Regions from separate parts of the Homo sapiens genome. Here all the other regions are linked to region 2. The links are contacts of gene promoters, found by promoter capture Hi-C in blood cells and fetal thymus (Javierre and others, 2016). All regions are on one chromosome and are shown on one strand. The core of a region is centred on a gene start or on the middle of the fragment in contact, and the rest is flanking DNA. Distances in the headings are between cores, read along the strand shown. Region 1 has its middle 21 kb from the start of CAVIN3. Region 2 holds the start of OR52L1 (olfactory receptor family 52 subfamily L member 1). Region 3 holds the start of CCKBR (cholecystokinin B receptor).

What was found. The method cuts DNA at HindIII sites, captures the fragments that hold promoters and counts their contacts. A CHiCAGO score of 5 or more calls a contact.
Region 1: a contact is called between a fragment that was not itself captured here and the fragment with the promoter of OR52L1 in region 2, in 2 of 17 cell types (M0 macrophages and M1 macrophages). The highest score is 5.6, in M0 macrophages.
Region 3: the fragment with the promoter of CCKBR here is called in contact with the fragment with the promoter of OR52L1 in region 2 in 4 of 17 cell types (M2 macrophages, M1 macrophages, monocytes and 1 more); the score reaches 7.5 in M2 macrophages.

What each region holds. Positions count from the first base shown.
Region 1 is chr11:6,297,296-6,300,872 of GRCh38, forward strand. No RefSeq gene overlaps it. Among named protein-coding and RNA genes, the nearest start is that of CAVIN3, 21 kb to the right of the region's middle. The HindIII fragment of the contact is 994 bases long and covers 997-1,990 here.
Region 2 is chr11:5,984,566-5,988,264 of GRCh38, forward strand. It overlaps OR52L1 (olfactory receptor family 52 subfamily L member 1), which reads right to left and starts at 2,420. Exons shown (of 1, transcript NM_001005173.3): 1 at 1,327-2,420. The coding sequence starts at 2,365. The coding sequence ends at 1,376. It overlaps LOC124902621 (a long non-coding RNA gene), which reads right to left and starts at 511. Exons shown (of 2, transcript XR_007062564.1): 1 at 342-511. It also overlaps a transcript of OR56A3 not described here. The HindIII fragment of the contact is 2,597 bases long and covers 1-2,543 here.
Region 3 is chr11:6,257,303-6,261,190 of GRCh38, forward strand. CCKBR (cholecystokinin B receptor) reads left to right here and starts at 2,536. Exons shown (of 5, transcript NM_176875.4): 1 at 2,536-2,777. The coding sequence starts at 2,627. The HindIII fragment of the contact is 1,486 bases long and covers 1,745-3,230 here.

The DNA.
Region 1 (3,577 bases), core at 244-2,743, 310 kb after region 2:
GATATGATAGCCTCTGCCCGTTTAGTTAGACAAGGTGCAATATGAATCAAGTCCATCTGTAGGAAACTATCTTCATACAGATGAAGGGTTCCTAGTCCAGTTCTAAATAAAAATTTCTTCCTGTCTCTGTAAAACATCTCAGACTGGATAGAACAGATCAAGTAGAGTAGTGATTTATGATACAGTGTGAAGATCCTATCTATTAAGCATGTGCCTGGTGTAAGGCCATAAGACTTGAAGAAACAATCTGAAGAAATTGTCTTCAGAGAATACTTCAAACGTTGCAAAATATCTTAACACCTTGCTGTGATCCACACAGAAGACCAACTGGCGTGACTTATTTATGAGATCTTTGCAAATGCAGTGAAGGCATTGGTCTCTTCCAAATTGAGAATGAGCATTACCACAATGACATGCATCCTTGGACATAACTAACATCAGGACTGTAACATAAATATGCTGCTACCATACTATGTAAAACATCATGAAATGGCCACTCTTCTAAAAGATGTAGGTAGAGAGATGGCAATGCATAGGATCTGTCCAGCTTAATTCCAGACCAGCACCAGGATCGCCAACAGGTACACCTTCTCTATCAGAGAGAATGATGTGTTCAGAGAGAACTTGTTTCACCAAAGTTTTTTCACCACTCCTTTCCTCTTGAGAGGACTAGTTCATAAAGGTCAGGAATGATAATCCATTCATTTCCTACAGTGAGACTACAAATTTGCCCAGGAACACTAGGGGGCAACCCCTGAACATAATTTACCTTTTCTCCTACTATGCCTTATTTTTCACTGGTCCAAATAACCACTGCAACTGGCAATATTTTCTTCCTGTTTAAATTACTGTTTTCTTTCTTTCCTTCTTTCTTTTTTCTGTCTTTCCTTCTTTCTTTTTTTCTTTCTTTCCTTCTCTCTCTTTCTTTTTTTTGACTGCTTTAATTTCTTGATTTTGAGACTGATTCACAGTCCCACATTCTTGTTGGTGACCTAAAGCTTCTTCTAATGATTTGACAAGATTTCCTTGGAGTGGGCAAAGATTTCTTAAGCAGAACATAAAAGCAGTAATCAATCATATGATGGCTCATACCTGGAAATCAGAGTACAGGTAAAAATGGTTCAGATTCGAAATTCTTATGTCTTGAAGCCTGACATGGTGGTTGACAGGTCCTTCTGTTTGTGCTTCATACTTTTGCTAAATTATTTTTGAAAGTTTTCTAAAGATAATCTCTGGGATAAACTTTGCCAAATAATTTGTAACCAGGAACACGAGGAACAACTGGTGAGCCTCTTTTGTCCTTTTTAGAAAAGATTTGAGACAAGCAGGGGCAGGTGGTGGTGGGCTCATCTCCAAACAGCTGTGAGAGTTAGCATTAAGGTAGTAAGCCCACCAACCTCACCCTACTTCATCCTCCCCAGTCCTCTCCGCCCAGGTGGCAGGGAGCACGCCCTCTGCTGACCAGCGCACCAGTGGCTCCAAGTACCCAGTCTTTGGCATCAGTGGCCACCAGGCTGCAGCTCTGTGAACAGCAGCTGCAGAGGAGCTTCCTGCCAGCCCAGGGAAGCCATAGCCTGTGCATGATCAGCCCCTTTTAGGAAACTAAGGTTGATTTGATGGAGCCAGTGCTGGCAAATCTGTCCAAGGAAAACCGTCCTGGTACCTGGATTTATCCAGGATCCAGCCTTGGAGGTGGTAAGGGAGGTCACTTTCGTGGCAGGCCAAGAGCCTTGAGAGGTTTTGAAAAATTCAAGAAGAGGCTGGTCACGGTGGCTCATGCCTATAATTCCAGTACTTTGGGTGGCTGAAACGAGTGGATCACCTGAGGTCAGGAGTTCGAGACGAGCCTGGCCAACATGGCAAAGGAAGGAAGGAAGGAAGATTCAAGAAGAAAGGAATTAGGCCAAAATGTATAGATACTACAGATGAAATCTTATGGAGAAATTTCCTTGGACTTACCATCTTAGCTTCAAGACAGCAAATGAATAGAAGCTTGTAAAAGATCAAGCTGAGATTTCTTAGAGAACCTCTAGCGGAAAAAACTTAAAGAAGGCCCATATGGTTAACAGTCTTGCTGCACCTGTTTAAAGAACCAGGCCGAATCTAATAAGACCATACTCATTTTGTCATCAAGAATCTTTGAGGTTCTTTGTAATAAAAAGTGGGGGGACTATAAGGAAAAAATTGTGCTTAATTTGAAAATTACGTGTTGTCATTCCAGAGCACACCTGACTTGTCTGATTCCAATTCTGTGGGAGCTGTTTTGCAGCTCTATAAAGTGTAGATAACTGGCAGCAATGCTAAATCATTCTTGTCTATAGATATGCAAATGAATGCTGTCCGGTAAAACAACAACAACAACAAAAAAAACCCCATCTGGCTGTATTTGCACAGTCATTTTAATATTCCGGATCTATAAATGTGTCTGTCCTTGGGATTCTCCTTTCACCTGGTTGTAATACTTCACTGCTTTCCTCATGAATTAGTTAAATAAAAACTTTAACTCATGTTTATTCTTATATCTGTATAAGAGTACTGATCTTACCTGTTTATGAAAATTATCTTTTAATGGCTACTTAGAACTAAATTATCCTTTAATGGCTTGTCCCCGTCTTTGTTTTAGCCACAGAGGGCCTAGAGACTTTAAGGCAAAGTATCAGAGACTTTTGAGGCAGCCCAGTCTGGCGACTTTCCCAGCAACCTAGCGCAGAAACTTTCTAGAAGCTTTATGATGACATCCCTGTTCAGAAGCACTTGGTGTTTTTTCTGTTCTATTGACTGAGGTGTCCTGACACTATTTTGGCAGACATTGTAATGTGCTGAGAAGTTGTACCAGGTATCTCATCATCAAAATGGAAATTTCAAAAGGCTGTCCTGAGTAGCCCCTGAGATTGTGCACCCCACTTTAGCGATGGCTAATATATCCTATTGTCAATGCATAGATGACGGTAATGATAATGGCTTGCTGGAAAAATGCTGAGGATACTTGTCCAGTTCAGAAAAAAGGCCTTCATCTTTCACCACAGTATATGCCCTCCTGGGTATTTATGGCTTGCTTGAGTGTGTGTAGGACCACCGTCATTATCAAAACATGTATTCCTAACAGCAGAGAGTGAGACCTTTTCTTAGGACGGTTAATAAACAAACCCAGAAGTTAATGTTACCTTGGGAACATGTCAAGTTTCTGAGTCATAAAGCCCCAAGTTAGTAGCTGGAAAGTCCATCATCAAGGTTAAGGGCATCCCCCAGAATGCTAGAATGATTTTGACAATTTGAAAAACTTTGTTTAATTATTGCTCAGGGAAGAAACATCCACAAACATCTTTGTTTAGCAGAGGACTTCTGTGACAGATGAGCCAAAGTAAGTAAAAAGAACAAAACAAGCCAGGCGAGTTGGCTCATGCCTGTAATCCCAGCACTTTGGGAGGCTGAGACAGGCGGATCACCTGAGGTCAGGAGTTCGAGAACATCCTGGCCAACATGGCAAAACCCCATCTCTACTAAAAATACAAAAAAGTTAGCCAGGCATGGTGGCACTGGCCTGTAATCCCAGCTACTCAGGAGGCTGAGGCACCAG
Region 2 (3,699 bases), core at 1,170-3,669:
ACCCTGATTTTCTCTAGGACAATTTACCAGAGTTTAAGCCCTAGACTGGGAATGAAGCTGATTAGAATGTGCAATTCCTCCTGCAATAAAAACAGCTCATACCAGTCCTCCCTAATTCATCTACTTGCAACGGCCAAGTTAAAGGCCTGATACTAAGCCTCTCAGACAGAGTACTAGTTATTATGAGTAAAATTTACTAAGAAAAGAAAAACTAGAAAAAACAACTATTAACTCTACCCCTCCTACCAATATGAAATCCCAAAATAAATCTTATCTCCCGAGCATCTTACATCAAAGTAGCAATGACTTGACTTCTTCCATGACTAAACAAAATGTGTTACCTTCTAGGAACAAAAATAATTAGGCCAGATCTCAGGGCAACATCAACAAACAGGTTGCAATATATCAATTGTAGCAGTCATCTTTTAAGTTTTCACCCAGTTCCTATTAACAGAAATAGAAGATCTAATTGACACCACTCCACATGCCCTATTTCCAAAAGAGAAACCCATTTTTAAGTGTCCATAACTGCTACTATACTTATTGCTTTATTTATTATAGCTATGTTTACCAACACCGGGATCTAGCACATTTTGTAGTTATTAGATGCTAATAATTATATGGTTACTTTTGGGTTTTTTAATGAATATTTATAAAACAAACATATACGCAGTACTTGGTCTTATTCCTTCTTTATCCAAAGCATGAATATAAATAAGTTGAAAATACAAAGAGATATCTTTTAAAATAAATTTCCTAGACACATATAGATTTCTTCCTTGAAAATAGAAATTATATTTTATTATTCCTAGAGCCTATTACCATAACTTCTCCACTTATGTTTGTTTTAAATAAATAAGTAATACCCATATTGCAATAAATGCTGTTTTCTTACACTGCGACCTTCTCAGCTGCTTTGAAGAGACCCTATTGGTAAACAGGAGCCAATGATCTGGGGATCCCAGCACTAACTTAGAGGTTTTGAAGAAACTCTAAACCTAAAACCAACCAAAGGGTGGGACTTTACAATTCCAGACAGTGTTGCATGGCCTACCATTGGGCAAAGGCGAGAAAGATGACACATTCAGAGCTATCATCTATTTCTCCTATCCCCAAGTCCTACTGACACAAGGAGTAGAGAAATGTTGAAATCAAGAGCAAAAGAAAAAATGGCAAAAATATTCACAAATCCAGATATCCAGGTACATCCCAATAAGCCAAGTATCTGTGGGTGTTCTTTAGCATGGCACTAGTAAGACTAGAAGGAATACTCACTGCAAAATGGTCTGTATTCATGTAATCTACACCAGTCACAGGCTCCTGGCTGTGGTCCGCAGAAGAAGCCTCCGAAGGAAACAATGAGAATATGTTCAGATCAATCCTTTTGTGTAAACACTCTGAGCACTCGCTGGCGGATCTGCTGAGTCTTCACTCCATAGACAAGAGGATTGAGCGCAGGTGGCATGAGGAGATACCGTGTGGCCAGAAGAACATGGACATGATGGGGTACATGATGACCAAAGCGGTGAGTGAGGAAGGAGAAAATTCCAGGGACATAGAAGACCAGGATGACACAAATATGAGAGCCACATGTGCTAAACGCCTTAAGTCGGGCCTCACTCCCTGGTACCTTCAGCACTGCCTGGAGGATGTGGGCATAGGAAACACCAATGGCCAGAACATCCAGCCCAATCACAAGCAAGGCCATAGTCAGCCCATAAGCTCGATTGACTGTGGTTTCTGAGCAGGCAAGTTTCACAACAGCCATATGTTCACAATAGGCATGGCCTATGATGGTGGCTTGGCAGAAGATAAGTGTTCCCAACAAAATGGGGAAGGGGATAAGGAGTAGTAATCCCCTCACCAGCACCACCATTCCGATGCGCCCTATGACCCCTGGATGCAGGATTGTGGAATGGTGCAAGGGGTGACAAATGGCTACATAGCGATCCAGAGCCATGGCCACAAGTACCCCTGACTCCATGGAGGAGAATGCATGGATGAAGAACATCTGGATCAGGCAGACGATGTACCCAATCTCGTGGGCATGAACCAGGAGCACTGCAAGGGCTTTGGGTGCAGTGGAGGAGGCCAGAACCAGGTCGATGGCAGCTAGCATGGACAGGAAGAGGTACATAGATTGGTGCAAGGATGGGTCCATCCAGATGATGAAGAGAATGGTAACATTGCCCACTAAAGCAAGGAGGTAAAGGATGCCCAGGGGCAGTGCAATCCAGTGCTGGCTTTCCTCTAAACCTGGAATCCCTACCAGGAGAAAAGAAGGCTGGGATAGCCTCCAGCTTGAATTGCTAAGGAGCATTATCAATGGCTTGGAGAGGAAAGAGAAAAAAGAAACCAAAGTCATGATTTCTGCATTCCTGCTACATTATCACATTGTCCAAATGGGGCAACCATCATCCTGAGAAGAATAAAGTGACTTCAACTGCAAACGAAGGGAATAAAGTTAGCTACAGGGAAGAAAATCTCCTTTGGTGGAGATAATTCTTTTACAAGTGAGACATCCACATGTCTGAATTAATACAAGCTTAGTTTTGTTTAGAGATAAGAGTAAACATAAGCTGCTTTTGGAGAGATGCTTAAACTCTACTATTCAGTTGCTTATATTTTGGAACTGTCAACTTCAAAGAGTTATTTTTATTAGCCTCTTGGTATTACTGACCACTGTGAATCAATCTGTTGTTTTTGAAATTAGTCTTCCTCAGTTTCCATGACATGGCACTCCAGAGTTGTTCCCCCTGTAGCCTTGGTCCCACCATTTTCTCTATCTCATTATGTCATTGATTCCAGGGATCCATCCTCTCCTGTATTCCCTATTCTGTGCATTATCTCTTAATTGACTTCATTTATTCCCATGGTTTTAACTGTTTATATACTTTTATTTCTTCCAAATTTATGTCTGTTTACCCAAATATCCTTCTGAAATATAAATCCATTTTTCCATTTGCTTTATGAATATCTATACACCACATCCTCAACATATTCAACATTGGATTAATTCACCTATTTTTCCCAAATTTGTTCTACTTATGTTTTGGCAATAATTTTTAATTACATCCCTAGCTACCTACACAACCCAATCTAAAAACTTGGAACCTGTCTTTACTCATAATCCTCATCCCCTTTTATTCATTCACCAATTCATGTTGACTTTATGTTAACCCCTCTTATATCCACTCCTTCTTCTCAACCCCCAATATCACTACCTTAGTTTACACCCAACTTCTCTCACCTGGACTATTTCATAACATCTTTCTGCCTTTGCCATAAACACCTTCCCAATTCACTCTCAACCCTGAAGTCATGGGTTTTTTTTCTAAAATGCAGATCTCATCATATCACTCCTAAGATTAAAATCCTTTGGTGAATTTATTGCATGGAATAAAATCATACTTTGAGACTGGCATAAAAGATTATCAAAAGTTATCTTTTTTGCATTACTTTTGTCTTACAGTTGATATATTTCTACATATGTTTTACTAACCATCCCTGCATTCTTGGAGTTACATGTACACACCAAGCTTACCTATGCCTTTTGTGTAGTCTGTCTCCAAATTCCTTTATCTGAATTGGTCCTTCAAAATTCAAAGTCCACTGTCACCCCTCAAAAGGACTCATTGCCTATGTCAGATGAATATTGATTATGTTCAGAGCACTTTATAATCTTCCTTTATTCATCCA
Region 3 (3,888 bases), core at 1,286-3,785, 270 kb after region 2:
AGCATAGTACTTCGGCTTTAAGGTGAAGTATAGATGTAGAGAGGCATCAGTAAAATGTGGTGGCCCATTTAGGAGGTTAGGAGTGTGGTTCAAGAGTAGGGTAATATCAGTGGACATATAAGCAGGCAGATTCAAGGAACACTCAGTAGCTAAAATGAACAGGACTTTGTGATTGATTCAATATGGGAGTGATGTAGTTATGTTCCCCAGGAAGCAGACTCTCAAACAAAGATTACTGTGGAGGATGTTTACTAAGGAGCGTTCTTGGAGTTAACACCTGTGCAAGAGAGAGGATGAAAATAGGATTGGGCAAAAGGAGAAGCTGAGTAGTAATTCAGTCCCAGCAAAGACCTCAGTCAACCATATGAAGGGTTCTAGGGGTGTGAGCATCTTTCAGAGTTGTCCACCACTGGGTTGAGGGGATTAAACTTTTATACCTCTGTGCTGATCGGTCATTGGATATAGAATGCCCAAGAAAGGGAGCATAACCTTGGATGAGCTGGCTTTCTTCTGCTTAGGCAACTCCTGAAGGGTTATGACAGCTGAGGGCCATCTTTTAGGAGCACTCTCCACAGCTGGAAAATAAATCCTCCATTTTTGAAGAGGGTTCTGGGCTTTGCATCACAGCATCCAGCGCAGGGGTGAAGGAGCATAGGGGAGTAAGGCATCAATAATAATTCCTAAATTTCTGATTTGTACATCCTGGTGGGTGCACTTAACGACCATATATTACAATCATTGGCTTGCTTGGGAAAATCCCACTAGAGTAGGTGCTACTGAGGGGCAAACTATATTGGACAACTAGTGCATACCCCTAGAACTGGCATAGTTTGCTAAATAAGTGAATGTCCATCTATTTCTATTTTCACTCCCCTCTCCCTTACATCCTTTGCTCCCTTCCCTCCTCATCGTACTGTCATCCAATGTGGGAAAACTTGAGCAGGTTATCTGAGGCCCCACCTGTGCTGGAGCGGAACAAATAGCAAATCAAGCTCCTCTGGTCCAGGCTCTCTGATGGGCAAGACAGGCAGTACCAGGAGGAAGGAAAGGGGGAGCAGTTGATGACATCTCAGGCATAAACTGTCTTTCAACTCTCTTTCAATGCTTCAGCCCCTATAAACTCAGGGCTGGCTGAACCAGGTCCTCTCCAAAAGATTAATTGGATAAGGGCCTGCTGAATCCCCCATAAAGCCAGACTCCATTCTCTAATTTGCTCTTCCACTGATGCCCGCCCCCAACCTCTTACAGCTACTGCTGGGGGTCAGAAGAATTTCACATCGTATTGGAGTTCATCCGGAATCTGAAGAATGGATAGGAATCTGGAGATAGGAATCTGGAGATAGGAATCTGGGGAAGAAAAGGAATGGATAGGAGAATGCATAGGGAGCAGGGCTGAAATAGTAGAAGAGGCAAATCCTGCCCCGAGAAGCTGAACCCAGTTCAGTCCTGCACCCTTCAGCCCTGTTCCCGCTGCACCGCAGTGACCCAGTCCCCTTCTAGCCCCCTCTCGTGGGAACCTGACACCCTACACAGGCAGCTCTGCCTGCACTGAGAGCAAACAGGGAGCGTTAGCGTGTCGGGTGGGCGTGGGCGCTGCCTGGAGACGGTGGAGAAAGCCAACCTTCTCCTTCTCTTTTGCCTGCGCTGGGCCGGCGTTAGAATTATATCCCATCCTCACCTTACTCTGGTTTATCCTTGTCAGTGCTTGCCACCACCCCCAACTGCCCTCAACACTCAAGTCAGAAGCTTCCTCCCGGGAGCCCTTTTCCCTGGCAAGGCTTCCCTGGAGCCAAATCTCGGCCCCGGCCCCACCCCCACTCCCGCCCAGCTGTGGAGGGCTCCTTGGGACCCTTAAGTGCAAGCCTGAGTGTTAAGCCTCAGACAGGAGATGGAGGGTGCGGAGACAGATGCAGGAGCTACCCCAGGCCCGCAGCGAGGAGCTGCAGGGAACTACGGTAGCAATAGTGTCACGGTCACTGCGGCCACTGCAACACAGTACGGTAAATGCGGCTCTAGGCTCAGACTAAAGCATCCGCGCCTCAGCAGGTGACGCACGCAGACCTGGTCTCCAACGCCACCTCCACGTTCCCTGATACACCAGAGAAAGATGCTGGATCCGTGGCAGCCGTCTCTACCCAACCCCTCCTACCCTCCCTTCCCCGAAACCTCCCCCTACGCTGCCAATACTCTTGTCTTCAATCTCTCTCTCTCTCTCTCTCTCTCTCTCTCTCTCTCTCTCTCTCTCTCATTCCTGGGAATCGGGGGTGGGGGCGGGTGATAAAGAGAGGTGGGCAGGAGAGAAATCTCTAAGAGGAGACGGGACACATCTAGGGAGGGGGCGAGCCTGGAGGACAGTCGCACAGGGAGGGGCAGAACTCCCGAGCCAGGGAGGGGGTGCACAGTCACCTGGCGGGACAGAGGCTGGCGGAGGGACGGGAACCCAGGCGGGGCGAGCCGCGGGAGAGTGGAGGGCAGGCGCCTGGGCTGGGGGCGGGGACCAGGCGGGGCAGGGGGCAGGGAGAGGAGGGCGGCGGGAGCCTGAGCCGGAATCGCAGCGTGAGCAGGTGGAGCCGCGTTGGGAGCCCGCCGGGTCGAGCTGAGTAAGGCGGCGGGCTCGGCGGGGGCCATGGAGCTGCTAAAGCTGAACCGGAGCGTGCAGGGAACCGGACCCGGGCCGGGGGCTTCCCTGTGCCGCCCGGGGGCGCCTCTCCTCAACAGCAGCAGTGTGGGCAACCTCAGCTGCGAGCCCCCTCGCATTCGCGGAGCCGGGACACGAGGTGGGTGCCTCCCTCAGCCCCCCCCACAAGCTATTTCTCACTGTACCCCAGAACACTAATAGAGTCCCCCCAACGAGCTCCACACTACCTTCTCAAACGTCCACACCGTGCCTCTCATAGTACTCCCTCAGCCCCCAAACAGCTCCCCTCACACCTTCACCCCCACAGCCTACAACTTCATCACAGCTTCACACCACCTGGTCGGAACTCCTTCACATCCTGGTCCCCTGAATACACCTAGAGCCCCTGCTCACCCCAAAGCACAGCCCCTTCCCCAACACGCAGCCCCTCCTAGACACCAGTCAGAAGGCGAGGACCTCCTCTTGCCAACCCTGCAGATCTCCTTTTCCCTCTTACATCCAGTTCACAGAGCCACAACAGAGAAGGGAAGGAAGAAAGGAAGGCAGGACTGGGAAAAGAAGGGGGCTGGTTGAGGGAGGGAGCACTCTGGAAAGCTTGAATGCGAAGCTGAAGTTGTGATCACATCTGACACCCCAGCCCCCAGCCATCCCAAAAAAGATCCTCAAATCTGAATTAGGCTGGACACTAGGGGATGCTCCTTAGAGCTGCCTGCCTCCATTTCACTCCTTCTCAAACCCCTCTGCCTCCCTAGTTGGAGCTTTCGAGGCTCTGTGCCCTCTCTCTTTGTCTGCAAGTAATGTCTCCAGCTATCTTCCAAGCTCTCTCTCCAGCCCTAGGCTAGGTGCTGGGGGCACAGGGCAAACTAGACCCAGTCTGGACCCTCATGGCCCATAGCCAAGTGCAGAGAGAAACCAAGCAAATGGAAAAATCACAGACACAATGGAAGTCCCATGAAAGGGTCTAAACTGTGGGCACCAAAAGAACTTCACAGAGGCTAGAACCTTAGAGCTGGGTCTTGAAGTTGAGTAGGCAGAAAAGGAAGGAGTGGGATTCTAGGTGAAGGAGCAATGTTAAGCAGAAGGAAATTTTTCTAAACTCAAAAAGGGAAAGTTGGAATAAATTGTAATCCAAGTATTTATTTACCCCACGAAATAATCTATGCTTTCTCAGCCGAGTTGTTACACACTCACACTTGGATTCTGTCATTCAGCCAATATTTATTGAACCAGAGATTGTGCTAGGCAGTGGG